Linked DNA regions of Homo sapiens: region 2 is linked to region 1. Evidence: promoter capture Hi-C in human tissues and cell types (Jung and others, 2019). All regions are on one chromosome and are shown on one strand. The core of a region is centred on a gene start or on the middle of the fragment in contact, and the rest is flanking DNA. Distances in the headings are between cores, read along the strand shown.

Region 1 (6,778 bases), core at 1,280-3,779:
ATTTAGCAAACTGCAAAACAAAGTCCATTCAAGATCTGGTACAATCAACTCTTGATCATTTGGAATTTTGTTTTGATTTGCTTGCTGAACAATGCAGTCCCTGGTTCTCTCCCTGGCTGCTGGGGACATGCCCTTACAGGCTCGGGGGAAAAAAGCAGTGGTTCAATACTGTTTCCTGACAACTGCACTGGTTATTAAACACAACTACGAAATAAACTTAGGAAGATGTATAACTACCAAACTATGTTTTATGATGATAACTGTTCATTTTAGGCCTACCATTTCTTTCACCTGTGACCCAAGTAATTCAGAGGTGAGATGTACGAGCCTGTCTGAGGCATTTTAGACAAGGGAGAAGGTGCCTACACAAGTACCAAACAATGCAGTGTTAAAACTGCTTTCCATAGGTGGCAATCTTCTATGATGCTTAAGCATTGTAAAGCAGTGACATTTGTTCATGTGGACATAATTAAAATAATTGAGGCCGGGCGCGGTGGCTAATGCCTGTAATCCCAGCACTTTGGGAGGCTGAGGCAGGAGAATCGCTTAAACCCGGGAGGTGGAGGTTGCAGTGAGCCGAGATCACACCATTGCACTCCAGCTTGGGCAACAAGAGTGAAACTCCATCTCAAAAAAAAAAAAAAAGAATACACATGTATAAATGAATATGTAAATTCACCAACAAGTTTTTAAAACTACTTCTGAAAGTAGCAATACTTTATGTAGTTTCACATTAATATGAAGCCAAATAGAAAATTCCAAGTAAGTGAGACATAGAAGATGCTTAACAGTAAAGAGACTTTCTATTAGGAAGTTCAAGTGATGCACAGTGCTACCTAGGAAACTCTCCTATCAGTTTTTGGAGTACACCTGGGGCAAATGGCTAATATTTTCATCTGCTGTGGAGATTTGAAATTAATAGCATCTTAATAGAATTTTACTTCTGATTGTTCCTGGCACCCCCAAATGTCAAAATTTGACACCAGAAGAGCTGGCAAATGTGTCTGAAGGAAATTTTTTTAAATCCCCACACTCAGTTTAATAAGGTCACCTTATTGTAGTCCCAATGCAACTAAAACTTAAATTGACCACGCTGTTTAAGAAGAATTTTTCTGGGTACTTCTGTGAACGTTTTTTGGAACTAGGAAAAAAAAAAAAACCCTAGTTATTAAATTTCGAAATGACTTGAGAACAAATTTGATGTTTAGAAACCTAACCCAAAGGCGATAATTTCATGTCATCCAACATTTACTTCTTTTTTTATTAGCAAATAAAATGTTCTTTGGAATGACAATAGCTCCACCTACACCGGCACACTTCCACGTTACAGTATCATGAACATTAGCTACACTCCTGCCCCGAAACAAGCTTTTGTCTGAGCCGTTCCCAAACCAAGGTATTAAAAGTGATCATTCTTTACCAAACAAAGATACTTTTGGACTGCAACCCAGGAGACTGAACACCTCAGTGTGTATTATTGTGGTGTTATCCTGGGAAAGTAATCCTTTCTGCAAGAAAACACAAAGCCCAAGTGTGTCCTTGACAAACAGCAAGATGTTCATAGCCTATATTCTAACGAGGCAACTTGTATTTAAAAAATAAAATAAAAAAAAGTGCAGAGTCCTGGAATTAAACACCATGAGCTCTCTATTCAAAGATGTTTCTTTTAAGCAAAGTGTTTCAATTATACATAGTTGTCTGCATTTGACAACAATCAGGACGACGCTAAATGCGGTTCCTTCTCCAGATCAGAGCGAGAAACCAAGGAGAAATGAAATTGTGCCAAAGAGCACGTAGCACCTGTCAAGGCACTGTGACCCAAGAAAGATTAATACAAAGAAGCTACGATGGATTTATCTCCTTGGTCTCCCCCCGCCCGCAAGGAGTCGTACCATCCCCGGGCCAGAGCCGCCAAATCCCTGCCTCACACGTAAGGGGAAGGGAATCGCCCCTCTTGGCTGCCGACCTTCCCCAGTCGGCCGGCCTCGTGGCGAAGGGGCCAGGGGCCTGCAAGGCGGGCAGGCAACAGAGGGCCGCGAAAGAGGCCGGGACCGGAGCGGGGCAGGCCGTGTGGCCCGTACCCCAGCGCCACAGCTCAGCCCCGCACTGGTCCTACCGTAGGGGGGATGGGGCTGGAAGCGGGCGCTCGTCTCCGGGCATCGGCGCCGCCGCGGCCAAGGCAGGGCAAAAACCAACACGTTGTCGTTGGCGGGAGGCAGTGGAAGGGATCCGCCCCGCAAGCAAGACCCCGGGAGCCCAGCCGCCGCCGCCCCGTCTCCGAGCGCGCCATTTCCAGGCCCCGGCCCTCCAGGCGCCGCTCCTAGGCCTCCGCGGGCCCCCGCCTCCCGCCGCCCCGGCTGAGCGCAGGACGGCCGCCACCCTGACGGCCCCGACTCCGCCGGTCCCGCAGCCCCCGACGGGGCCCGCGCACGCCCGCCTCACCCTCTGCCGCCGCCGAAGCTGCTGTAGGCCCGATCGTCGTAGGTGTCGAAGTCCGCCATTTGCCGTCTCCGCTCCGAGAGGAACCAGGGTGAGCGAGGAAGGACCCCGCAATATAACTCCCCCCGCCCCGCCGCCGGGGCTGTCCGCCGCGCCGCCTGATCGCAAATCCCTTGGACGCAGGCACGCGCACGCGCGCGCGCGCACGCACGCACGGACGCTGGCCGCGCAGCGCCCGGCCCTGGGCCCACCGGCAGCTGCCTGCCCCGTGCGCTCTGCAGCCCACGTGGTGCGGCGGCGTCCCAGCTGGACGCCTGCCCGGCCTACGCGGCCCATTATGTGCTGGCCCTGGGGTGCGCCCGTGGCTGCCTCCTATCCCCGCCGCACCACGCCCGTGCGCGCCGGCCTTTCCGTCCGTCGGCGGGAGGTGACCTGGAGAGCTGGGGGGAACTCCCTCTCCAGTTCGCCTGGGACGCTGCCTTTCGGCCTCCATACATGGCGGGGACCTCGGAGGCCTGTCCCGCTTGGACCCCCAAGTGGTCCCCGGGTGACACCCAAGTAAAGGCCACCTCCTTCTCCAGGCAGGAGCTGGCCACACGATGAGGATGCCCCGGAAGGGGGTGCGAGGCGGTGGGATGCAGACACGAATCCTGCCTTCCAGGGCTTACTCGCTGCCTGGGTATTGGGGGGTTTTGAGAGGAGAGAGTATAGGTGATCGGTGACTTAGCAAGAGAGACTGCACATCTCGGTTTTTTGCAGAAGTCGTTGCCTTGGAAAAAGAATTGGATACTGTTGTGGATTCCATCATCTAGCAATAACAAAACATGGTTATGCAGTGGGAATTAATTACACGGGTAAATTTCCAGGTTTGTGATTGAGATGGTAGTAATTGTGGATGCCACGATGTTGACAAACCTTAATTATCTAAGCACACTTTGAAAGAACCTCATAGAATTTTGTTGTGATGTGTACCTAGGTATCTTCCGCTTAACCATTACTTTTTATTATGTATTTATTGGTTCGTTGTTGAGACAGGGTCTCGCTCTGTCGCCCAGGCTGGACTGCGGTGGAACAGTGGTAGCTCACGGCAGCCTTGACCTCTTGGGCTCATGCCATCCTGCCGCCTTAGCCTCTGGAGTAGCTAGGACTATAGGCGGGCAGTACCTCGCCTAATTTGCATTTTTTTTTTTTTTTTTTTGAGATGGAGAATCAGGTTGGAGTGCAGTGGCGCAATCTCATCTCACTGCAACCTCCACCTCCTCGGTTCAAGCAATTCTCCTGCCTCTGTCTCCCGAGTAACTGGGGTGACAGACGTGCACCACCACACCCAGTTAATTTTTGTATTTTTAGTAGAGACAGCGTTTCACCATGTTGCCCAGGCTGGTCTTGAACTGAGATCCACCCGCCTTGGCCTCCCAAAGTGCTGGGATTACAGGCATGAGCCACCGTGCCTGGCTCTAATTTGCTTTGTAAAACATTTATTTGTAGAGACAGAGTCTCACTATGTTGCCCAGGTTTGTCTCGATCTACTGGCTTTTAAGTAGTCCTCCTGCCTCTGCCTCCTAAAGTGCTGGAATTACAAGCATGAGCCACTGTGCCCTGCCAACTTTTATATTTGAGTATCTTCTCCTTCATAGCAGTGTTAAGATGGACAGAGCATTATCAATTCATGAGTTAATAGTGTTGAACTCACTTATTCATTTTTCTGTGCCTTTTTCTTCCCAAGTAATAAAACACTTTGCTGCCTGATAGACCTAGATTGAACCTAGGCTCAGTTAACGTCTTACTGGCTGAGTGACCTCGAGGACGTTGCTTAACCGCTTTAACATGCCTGTTTTCTCATCTATATAATAATGTCACCTACCTCTTCAGTGTTGTAAAGATTCAAATTAGTAAATATGTAAAATTCCTGGCACACAATATATATTGGGGACCTACCAAGGTGTCTGGCACCATTATGGGTGCTTTACCTGTAGATAATAATTTCCAAACCTGTTTAACAGCTGTGGAACCACCCAGAGAGAAAGAGACTTGCCCAAGGTCACCTAGTTTTGACCTTAGCACATGGCTCAGAAAATAACCAATGGTTTCTTCTCCTTGCGCAGTTTAAACTTGGACCCCTGCTCCATGCTCCTGCCCCCATTACTCTATTACTCTTATTTACTTTCTTTTTTTTTTTGTTTTTGGTAGAGATGGGTCTTGCCATGTTGCCAAGGCGGGTCTTTTTTTTTTTTTTGAGACAGAGTCTGGCTGTGTCACCCAGGCTGGAGTGCAGTGGCGCAATCTCGGCTCACTGCAAGCTCCGCCTCCCAGGTTCATGCCATTCTCCTGCCTCAGCCTCCTGAGTAGCTGGGACTACAGGCGCCCGCCACTACGCCCGACTAATTTTTTGTATTTTTAGTAGAGACGGGGTTTCACCGTGTTAGCCAGGATGGTCTTGATCTAACCTTGTGATCCGCCCGCCTTGGCCTCCCAAAGTGCTGGGATTACAGGTGTGAGCCACCGTGCCCGGCCCCCCAGGCAGGTCTTGAACTCCTGACTTCAAGTTATTCTCCCTCCTTGGCCTCCCGAAGTAGTGGTATTGCAGGATTACAGGTGGGAACCACGCACCCGGCCACTCCATTACTCATTTTTTTTTTTTTTTTGAGACAGGGTCTCACTCTGTTGCCCAGGCTGGACTGTAGTGGCACGATCTCAGCTCACTGCAGCCTCCGCCTCCAGCATTCAAGCCAGTCTCCTGCCTCAGCCACCTGAGTAAGTGGCATTACAGGTGTGCGCCACCACGCCTGGCTAATTTTTGTATTTTTGGTGGAGATGGGGTTTCCATGTGTTTCCCAGTCTGGTCTTGAACTCCTGGCCTCAGGTGATCCACCCACCTCAGCCTCCCAAAGTGCTGGGATTACAGGCGTGAGCCACCGTGCCTGGCCACTCCATTACTCTTTTTTTACTTTTTTTTTTTTTGAGATGGAGTCTCACTCTGTCACCCAGGCTGGAGTGCAGTGGCACCATCTCGGCCCATTGCAACGTCCGCCTCCCAGATTCAAGCAATGATCCTACCTCAGCCTCCTATGTAGCTGGGACCACAGGCACCGGCCACCATGCACGGCTGATTTTGTATTTTTAGGAGAGATGGGGTTTCACCATGTTGGTCAGGCTGGTCTCGAATTCCCGACCTCAGGTGATCCACCCGCCTTGGCCTCCCAAAGTGCTGGGATGATAGGCCTGAGCCACCACACCCGGCTACTCCATTACTCTTAAAATGCATCAAATTGCATTTGACCAAAGGGAAACATTAAGGGCTGGAGGCAGTGGCTCACGCCTGTAATCCCAGCACTTTGAGAGGCTGAGGTGGGCAGACAAATTAGCCAGGCGTGGTGGCGCATGCCTGTAATCCCAGCTACCTGGGAGGCTGAGGCAGGAGAATCACTTGAACCTGTGAGGTGGAGGTTGCGGTGAGCCAAGATTGCACCATTGCACTCCAGCCTGAGCAACAAGAGCAAAACTCCGTCTCAAAAAAAAAAAAAAAAAAAGGAAACGTTAATATTTATTCCTGAATGGCCTTACATTTTTTTTACTTCCAAAGTGTCCCAGTCCAAAGTCACTTCAGGGTGAGATCTTGAAGGACAGGAGCCATGTTAAGGGGGTTATGTCCCACAGGGCCTTACATGTGGGAGAAGGGGTGCAATTTGTCATTAATAAAGTAAAAAGCGGGGCATGGTGGCTCACACCTGTAATTCCAACATTTTGGGAAGCCGAGGCGGGAGTGTCGCTTGACCCCAGCAAATGGAGACCAGCCGGGGCAACATAGTAAAACCCCAAATCTACAAAAAATAAAAATTAGCCAGGTGTGGTTGCACATGCCTGTGGACCCAGCTACTTGGGAGCCTGAGATGGTAGGATCACTTGAGCCAGGGTGTTGAGGCTGTAGTGAGCCATGATCACACCACTGCACTCCAGCTTGGGCCACAGATTGAGATCCTATCAAAAAACATAATAAATTTTTTTTTTTTTTTTTTTTAAGGGAGGGCTGTGTGTGGTGGCTCATGCCCGTAATCCCAGCACTTTGGGAGGCTGAGGCTGGTGGATCACTTGAGGCCAGGAGTTCAAGACCAGTCTGGGCAACATGGCAAAACCCCATCTCTGGTAAAAATACAAAACTTAGCTGGGCTTGGTGGCGTACAGCTGTAGTCCCAGCTACTCAGAAGGCTGAGGCAGGAGAATCGTTTGATTCCGGGAGACAGAGGTGGCAGTGAGCCGAGGTCACACCACTGCACTCCAGCCTGGGTGACAGAGCAAGAATCCGTCTAAAAAATTAAAAAATAGACTTTCTAGGAAGGCT
Region 2 (6,778 bases), core at 2,198-4,697, 230 kb before region 1:
TCCCGTTCCCCTGCCCTCCGCCCCCGCCAACACCTTGAACCTGGGGGCCTCGCTGGGCAGGCAGGCTGGCTGAGGGGAGCTTGTACTACTGTTTGAAGAAGGTTCAGAAGGTGGGGACAAGAAGCCCTGGCGACTGCCTTGGCCTGGAAGTGGCTTCGGAAAAGGGGCCCCCACTTGGCTCTTAAAGACTGGATGCTCCCCCTTGGTGTCTGCATGGATAAACTTACCCCCTCCCCAGCCCCCGCCGGCCCCTCTGGGGAGACCCGAGGGAGAATGGGCGGAAAAAGAGGACAGGGCCGCTAAGATGGTCCTCAGGGCAGCTCCTTCTGGACAGAGGGGCCTGGCCGGATCCCCTCTGCCTCCACTGACAAACTCCAGAAGCTGCCGGGTGTCCAGGCTGAAGGTCCCCGGGTCAGGCCGGGGCTGTACCGTTCACACTCTCTGTAGAAGGCTGGGCTTGAGGAAGCGTCCTGGTCTGGCGAGGGATCGGGGTGGGGGATTGTCCGCGGCGGTGAGTACGTTATTGTTACAAACACTGTTTTGTCTCCAAAGTGACAGTCCCGGCTCCTGCCTGGAGGAGGTACTGCCGGGCAGCCGCGTGGGGCTCTGGTGTGGACTGGGCTGCTCCACAGTATCCCCTCAGGATCAGTGCTTGTCCTAGAGAGAGTAAAGGGCATCATCAGCAAGGGTCTCAGAGAGCCTGGAGGGCCAGGCGGCCAGAGGGGAGTCAGGGAGGAAAGGAGTTGGGGCCGGGTGGGGGAGGAGCATAGAGCGAACTGCATGTGCCAAGGCCCTGAGGCAGGAAGTGTCTCCCTGCTGTGTGTTTGTGGCTGTGTGAGACAGCAGGTGGGGTGGGAGGTGCTGATGGGAAGCGGAGCCGAGGGGAAGAAGCAGGTTTTTTGTTTGTTTGTGTGTTTGTTTGTTTTAAGACGGAGTCTTGCTCTGTCGCCAGGCTGGAGTGCAGTGGTCTGATCTCAGCTCACTGCAACCTTCGACTCCCTGGTTCAAGCGATTCTCCTGCTTCAGCCTCCTGAGTAGCTGGGATAACAGGCATGCGCCACCATGCCCAGCTAATTTTTGTATTTTTAGTAGAGATGGGGTTTCACCATGTTGACCAGGATGGTCTTGATCTCCTGACCTCATGATCCACCCACCTCGGCCTCCCAAAGTTCTGGGATTACAGGCATGAGCCACTGCGCCCAGCCAGAAGCAGGTTTTACAAAGAGCCCTCAGTGCCTGTACGGGGCTGGATCTCTCTCTCTTTTTTTTTTTTTTTTTTGAGACAGTCTCACTGTTGCTCAGGCTAGAGTGCAGTGGCACGATCTTGGCTCACTGCAACCTCTGCCTCCCGGGTTCAAGCGATTCTCCTGCCTCAGCCTCCCGAGTAGCTGGGACTACAGGCATGTGCCACCACACCCAGATGATTTTTTTTTTTTTGTATTTTTAGTAGAGATGGGGTTTCGCTATGTTGGCCAGGCTGGTCTCAAACTCCTGACCTCAAGTGATCCACCTGCCTTGGCCTCCTAAAGTGCTGGGATTATAGGTGTGAGCCACTGCACCTGGACAGTTTTCACATCTGTGAACTGGGATGACCCCATGTGTCTCGCAGGGTGGCCAGGAGAACAAGGCCAGGAGGACAAAATCACACTAACTCCTCTGAGGCTGGCTCTGCCCACATAACCCTGCCTGTGTCTGGAGCTTGGCAGATTCTGTGGCTGTGCTGCTCCTGTTTCTAGCGAGCATCTGTGCTCCAGGGATTCTGCAGTCAGAACTAGGTTCTCTCTCTTTCTGTGTTCTTCTTAGAGACAGGGTCTCACTTTATCACCAAGGCTGGAGTGCAGTGGCGCAATCCTAGCTCACTGCAGCCTCAAACTCCTGGGCTTGAGTGATCCTCTTGCCTTAGCCTCCTGAGTAGCTGAGGCTACAGGCATGCGCCACCACACCTAGCTAATTTTTAAAATTTTTATTACTATTTTTTGAGACAGTTTTGTGCTTGTTGCCCAGGCTGGAGTGCAATGGTGCGATCTCGGCTCACTGCAACCTCCACCTGCCAGGTTCAAGCGATTCTCCTGCCTCAGCTTCCCGTGTAGCTGGGATTACAGGTGTGCGCCACCCTACCCAGCTAATTTTGTATTTTTTTTTTTTTTTGGTTTTTTTTTTTTTTGAGATGGAGTCTCGCTCTGTCGCCCAGGCTGGAGTCCAGTGGCGCGATCTCGGCTCATTGCAAGCTCCGCCTTCCGGGTTCATGCCATTATCCTGCCTCAGCCTCCAGAGTAGCTGGAACTACAGGTGCCCGCCACCACGCCCAGCTAATTTTTTTTTGTATTTTTAGTAGAGATGGGGTTTCACCGTGGTAGCCAGGATGGTCTTGATCTCCTGACCTTGTGATCCGCCCGCCAGATGGAGTTTCACCATATTGGCCAGGCTGGTCTCAAATTCCTGACCTCAAGTGACCCACCGGCCTCGGCCTCCCAAAGTGTTGGGATTACAGACATGAGCCACTGTGCCCAGCCTTTTTAAAATTTTTTTTTTTTAATAGAGAGAGGGTCTCGCTATATTGTCCACCCTACCCGGCTAATTTTGTATTTTCAGTAGAGACGGAGTTTTACCATATTGGCCAGGCTGGTCTCAAACTCCTGGGCTCAAATGATCCTCCTGCCTTGGCCTCCCAAAGTGCTGGGGTTACAGGCGTGGGCCACTGCGCCCAACCTATAACTTTTTTAAGAAGGGAAGAAAACACAAATCAAAAAGAGCAGGGTGAATCTGGAATCAAGTTTGCCTGCAACAGCACCCTCCCTGAGGGACCCTACTGTAAAGCTTCTTGCAGAATGCATCTTTGTGTGTATTCTTAGTGACGTTTCAAGGATTTTCTCCAGAGAGGTCTGCCTGCACGGGAGGGACCTGGGAGGCCCGAGGCGCCCCTCACCTCTTGTTTCTGAGCTTTGTCCTGCTGGTGGATGCCGTTTGCAGAACCGGAATTGCCGATGGTCTGGAAGAGTTAGGGGAGACACTGAGCCAGGTGCACCAGGCAGCAGTTCCCGATTTTCCCACTAGATGGCGAGGTCTTCCCATGGGACCGTCTCAGGCTCCAAATTCCAACCCCTTCAGCCTGGGGCTCCCAGCACCCCCAAAGACCAAGCCTCTAGGGGTAAGGCTGCATCTTCCTTCTTAGTCTAAGCTCCTCAGGGCAAAGCCATGTGCCCCTTGAACTGGGGGTTCCAGAGGGCAGGGCTCCCTCCCCTTTCAGCTGGGTTCCCAGGACAGAGCTGCCTCCCGCTTTAGATCAGGGTTCCTGGGCCAGGGCTGCCTCCCATTTCTGATGGAGGTTCCTGGGACAGCGCCACCTCCCCCTTCAGACCAGGGTTCCCGGGACAGAGCTGCCTCCCCCTTCAGACCAGGGTTCCGGGACAGAGCTGCCTCCCTCTTCAGATCAAGGTTCCCGGGACAGAGATGCCTTCCCTTTCAGACTAGGGTTCCCAGGACAGAGCTGCCTCTCCCTTCAGATCAAGGTTCCTAGGACAGAAATGCCTCCCCCTTCAGACTAGGGTTCCCGGGACAGAGCTACCTCCCCCTTCAGACCGGGGGCTTCTGGGACAGAGCTGCCTCCCCCTTCACATCAGGGTTCCTGGGACAGAGCTGCCTCCCCCTTCAGACCAGGGGTTCCCGGGACAGAGCTACCTCCCCATTCAGACCCGGGTTCCTGAGACAGGGCTGCCTCCCCCTTCAGACTGGGGTTCCCAGGACAGAGCTGCCTCCTTCTTCAAACCAGGGTTTCTGGGACAGGGCTACCTCCCCCTTCAGACCAGGTTCCTGGGACGAGCTCCCTACCTCCTCAGACTGGGGTTTTAAAGACAAGGCTGCCTCCCGCATCAGACGGGGGCTCCGAGGACACTGCCCCGTGGCTTGCCTCCTGGTGGGCCCTGTCAGCCGCGGCTCACCTGGGCCTTGTCAGGGCAGCTCCTCATGGCCTCCATCAGCTTCTCCACCTGCTGAGCCTGGTCCAGCGCATCCCGCAGGGCGTCCTCCGTGCTCATCAGCTGGTGCTGCAGCCGCAGAAGCTCGGGCGCCGAGGACCGGTCGATGAGGGAGTAGCGCCTCTGATCCGACAGGGATTTCTCTTTGTCCTGGAAGTGGCAGGAGAGTGGAAGAGTACATGAGTGTGCGTGTGTGTGTTGGTGGGCGTCTCAACTCTAGGCAGGAAAGTCTTCCAGCCTCACTTTGTCTCTGGGTTCCAAGCCTGGGCATCACCCAGAGGTCCCTCAGGCCTCTGTGAGGTGCTCCATGGTCTCCAAGTGGGGAACCCAGGACCCCATCCCTCTTGACTTTTTTTTTTTTTTTTTTTTTGAGACAGAGTCTCGCTCTATCACCTAGGCTGGAGTGCAGTGGCGCGATCTTGGGTCTCTGCAAGCTCCGCCTCCCGGGTTCATGCCATTCTCCTGCCTCAGCCTCCTGAGTAGCTGGGAGGGGCCCACCACCACGCCCCGCTAATTTTTTCCTATTTTTAGTAGAGACGTGGTTTCACCGTGTTAGCCAGGATGGTCTCAATCTCCTGACCTCGTGATCCACCCGCCTCGGCTTCCCAAAGTGCTGGGATTACAGGCATGAGCCACTGCGCCCAGCCTTGCCTTTAAAAATAATTAAAAAAAGAGACAGAGACCGAGCCTGGTGGCTCACGCCTGTAATCCCAGCACTTTGGGAGGCCGAGGCAGGCAGATCACCTGAGGTCAGGAGTTCGAGACCAGCCTGGTCAACATGGTAAAACCCCATTTCTACTAAAAGTACAAAAATTAGCAGGGTGTGGTGGCTCACATCTGTAGTCCCAGCTACTCTGGAGGCCTAGGCAGGAGAATCGCTTGAACCCGGGAGGTGGAGGTTGCAGTGAGCCAAGATCATGCCACTGCACTCCAGCCTGGGCGACAGAGTGAGACTTGGTCCCCACCCCCCCCCCCCCAAAAAAAGACTGAGTCTCACTCTATTGTGCAGGCTGGAGTGCAGTGGTGCAATCACAGCTCATTACAGCCTCCAATTCCTGGGCTCAAGTGATCCTCCCACCTCAGCCTCCCGAGTAGCTGATACTGCAGGGCATGCAACCACACTTGGCTAATTTTTAACTTTTTTTGTAGAGATGCGGTCTTGTTATGAGGTCCAGGCTGGTCTCGAACTCCTGACCTCAAGCCATCCTCCCAACTTGGCCTCCCAAAGCAGTGGGATTATAGGCATGAGCCACCGCACCCAGCACCCTTCTTCTTACACTGCCCCCACCCAACTGTCTTATGAGGTTCCTCCTCTCCATAGTCACCCCCACCATGGCACCCAGAGCTGTACCTGCCCCAAGGCCCGCCAGCCTCCTCGCTCCTGCACAAACTCCATCCTTCAGCACTGCCCAGTCCTGCCTGCTCTGACCCTCCAAACCACCTCCCAACAGAACCTCCATCCTGAAATCAAGAGGCTTCTACCCACACACCAAGGCTTCCCAAGTTCTCCCGTGGACACAGTGCAGGGAGATGATGAGACAAGAGGCTACCCTGGGGCAGAGGCCGCCACTTCCCAAGTAAACTTGACCAATCTGTGCCCCATGGGCACCAGTCTGAGCTCAGCACTGCGCACTCCTACAAGGCTCTAGGGAAGCCCCTGGGGGTATTCAAGACTCCCCAGTCCGTGCCAACCCCAGGGGCTTATCTTCTGTTGAGCCACAGGGACCACAGAGGGTGCAGCCACCAACCCCTGCTAGCCAGATAGGCCAGGACTTGAAGGCCGGCAGGACTCAGTGACCCCCACAGCCACAGTCTGGGTGTGTGGCCAGAGTGATGCTCTTTATCCCGGAACCCTGAGGGCCAAGGGCCTACTCCCGGATATAGGGGGTCGGTGGCGCTGAGGCCCTCCCTCCAGCCTGTGAACCACCCCCTTGCCCAGGGCTGGGCCCTGCTCTCCTTCCATCACCTCTACAGTGGCTGAGCCCAATGTCTGGGCAGGAGGGTGGTGGGGGGCTTCAGGACAGCTTTCCCAGGCAAGGGCCTGTCCTCCTGGACCCCACGCCCTCCATATCGTGACGTTCACCAGGCTCAGGCTTGTCCTGAGTGCTCATCACAGGAGGATGGGATGGGGATGGGGTGGTTTCTTTATTCTTTTTTTTTTGAGACAAAGTCTCACTCTGTCGCCCAGGCTGCAGTGCAGTGGCGCAATCTCAGCTCACTCCAACCTCCGCCTCCTGGGTTCAAGTGATTCTCCTGCCTCAACCTCCCAAGTAGCTGGGATTACAGGCACACTCCACCATGCCCGGCTAATTTTTGTATTTTTAGCAGAGATGGGGTTTCGCCATGTTGGCCAGGCTGGTCTCGTACTCTTGACCTCAAGTGATCCGCCTGCCTCAGCCTCCCAAAGTGCTGGGATTACAGGTGTGAGCCATTGCGCCTGGCCAAGGGATGGGGATGGTCCTGTGCTATGCTACCAGCATCACCTGCCTACCCCAACCCGTCTCTGCAGACTCAGTGAAGTCAGGTTCCTATTCATAATAGAAAAGAAATCTCGACCGGGCGCAGTGGCTGACACCTGTAATCCCACCACTTTGGGAGGCCGAGGCAGGAGGATCACAAGGTCAGGAGTTCGAGACCATCCTGCCTAACACGGTGAAACCCTGTCTCTACTAAAAATACAAAAAAATTAGCCAGGCGTGGTGGCGGGTGCCTGTAGTCCCAGCTACTTGGGAGGCTGAGGCAGGAGAATGGTGTGAACCAGGGAGGCAGAGCTTACAGTGAGCTGAGATCGCGCCACTGCACTC

What was found. Contacts are between HindIII fragments. The study calls those that stand out against the background at their distance.
Region 2: a contact is called between a fragment that was not itself captured here and the fragment with the promoter of EIF4H in region 1, in 1 of the 25 tissues and cell types used here (lymphoblastoid cells).

Annotation. Positions count from the first base shown.
Region 1 is chr7:74,170,107-74,176,884 of GRCh38, reverse strand. It overlaps EIF4H (eukaryotic translation initiation factor 4H), which reads right to left and starts at 2,529. Exons shown (of 7, transcript NM_022170.2): 1 at 2,443-2,529. The coding sequence starts at 2,501. RefSeq lists enhancers at 1,464-1,976, 1,977-2,490, 2,472-2,766 and a silencer at 2,269-2,778. The HindIII fragment of the contact is 15,155 bases long and covers 301-6,778 here.
Region 2 is chr7:74,397,716-74,404,493 of GRCh38, reverse strand. CLIP2 (CAP-Gly domain containing linker protein 2) reads right to left here. Exons shown (of 17, transcript NM_003388.5): 15 at 3,939-4,124; 16 at 2,927-2,989; 17 at 1-657. The coding sequence ends at 646. Among named protein-coding and RNA genes, the nearest start is that of GTF2IRD1, 53 kb to the left of the region's middle. The HindIII fragment of the contact is 5,500 bases long and covers 698-6,197 here.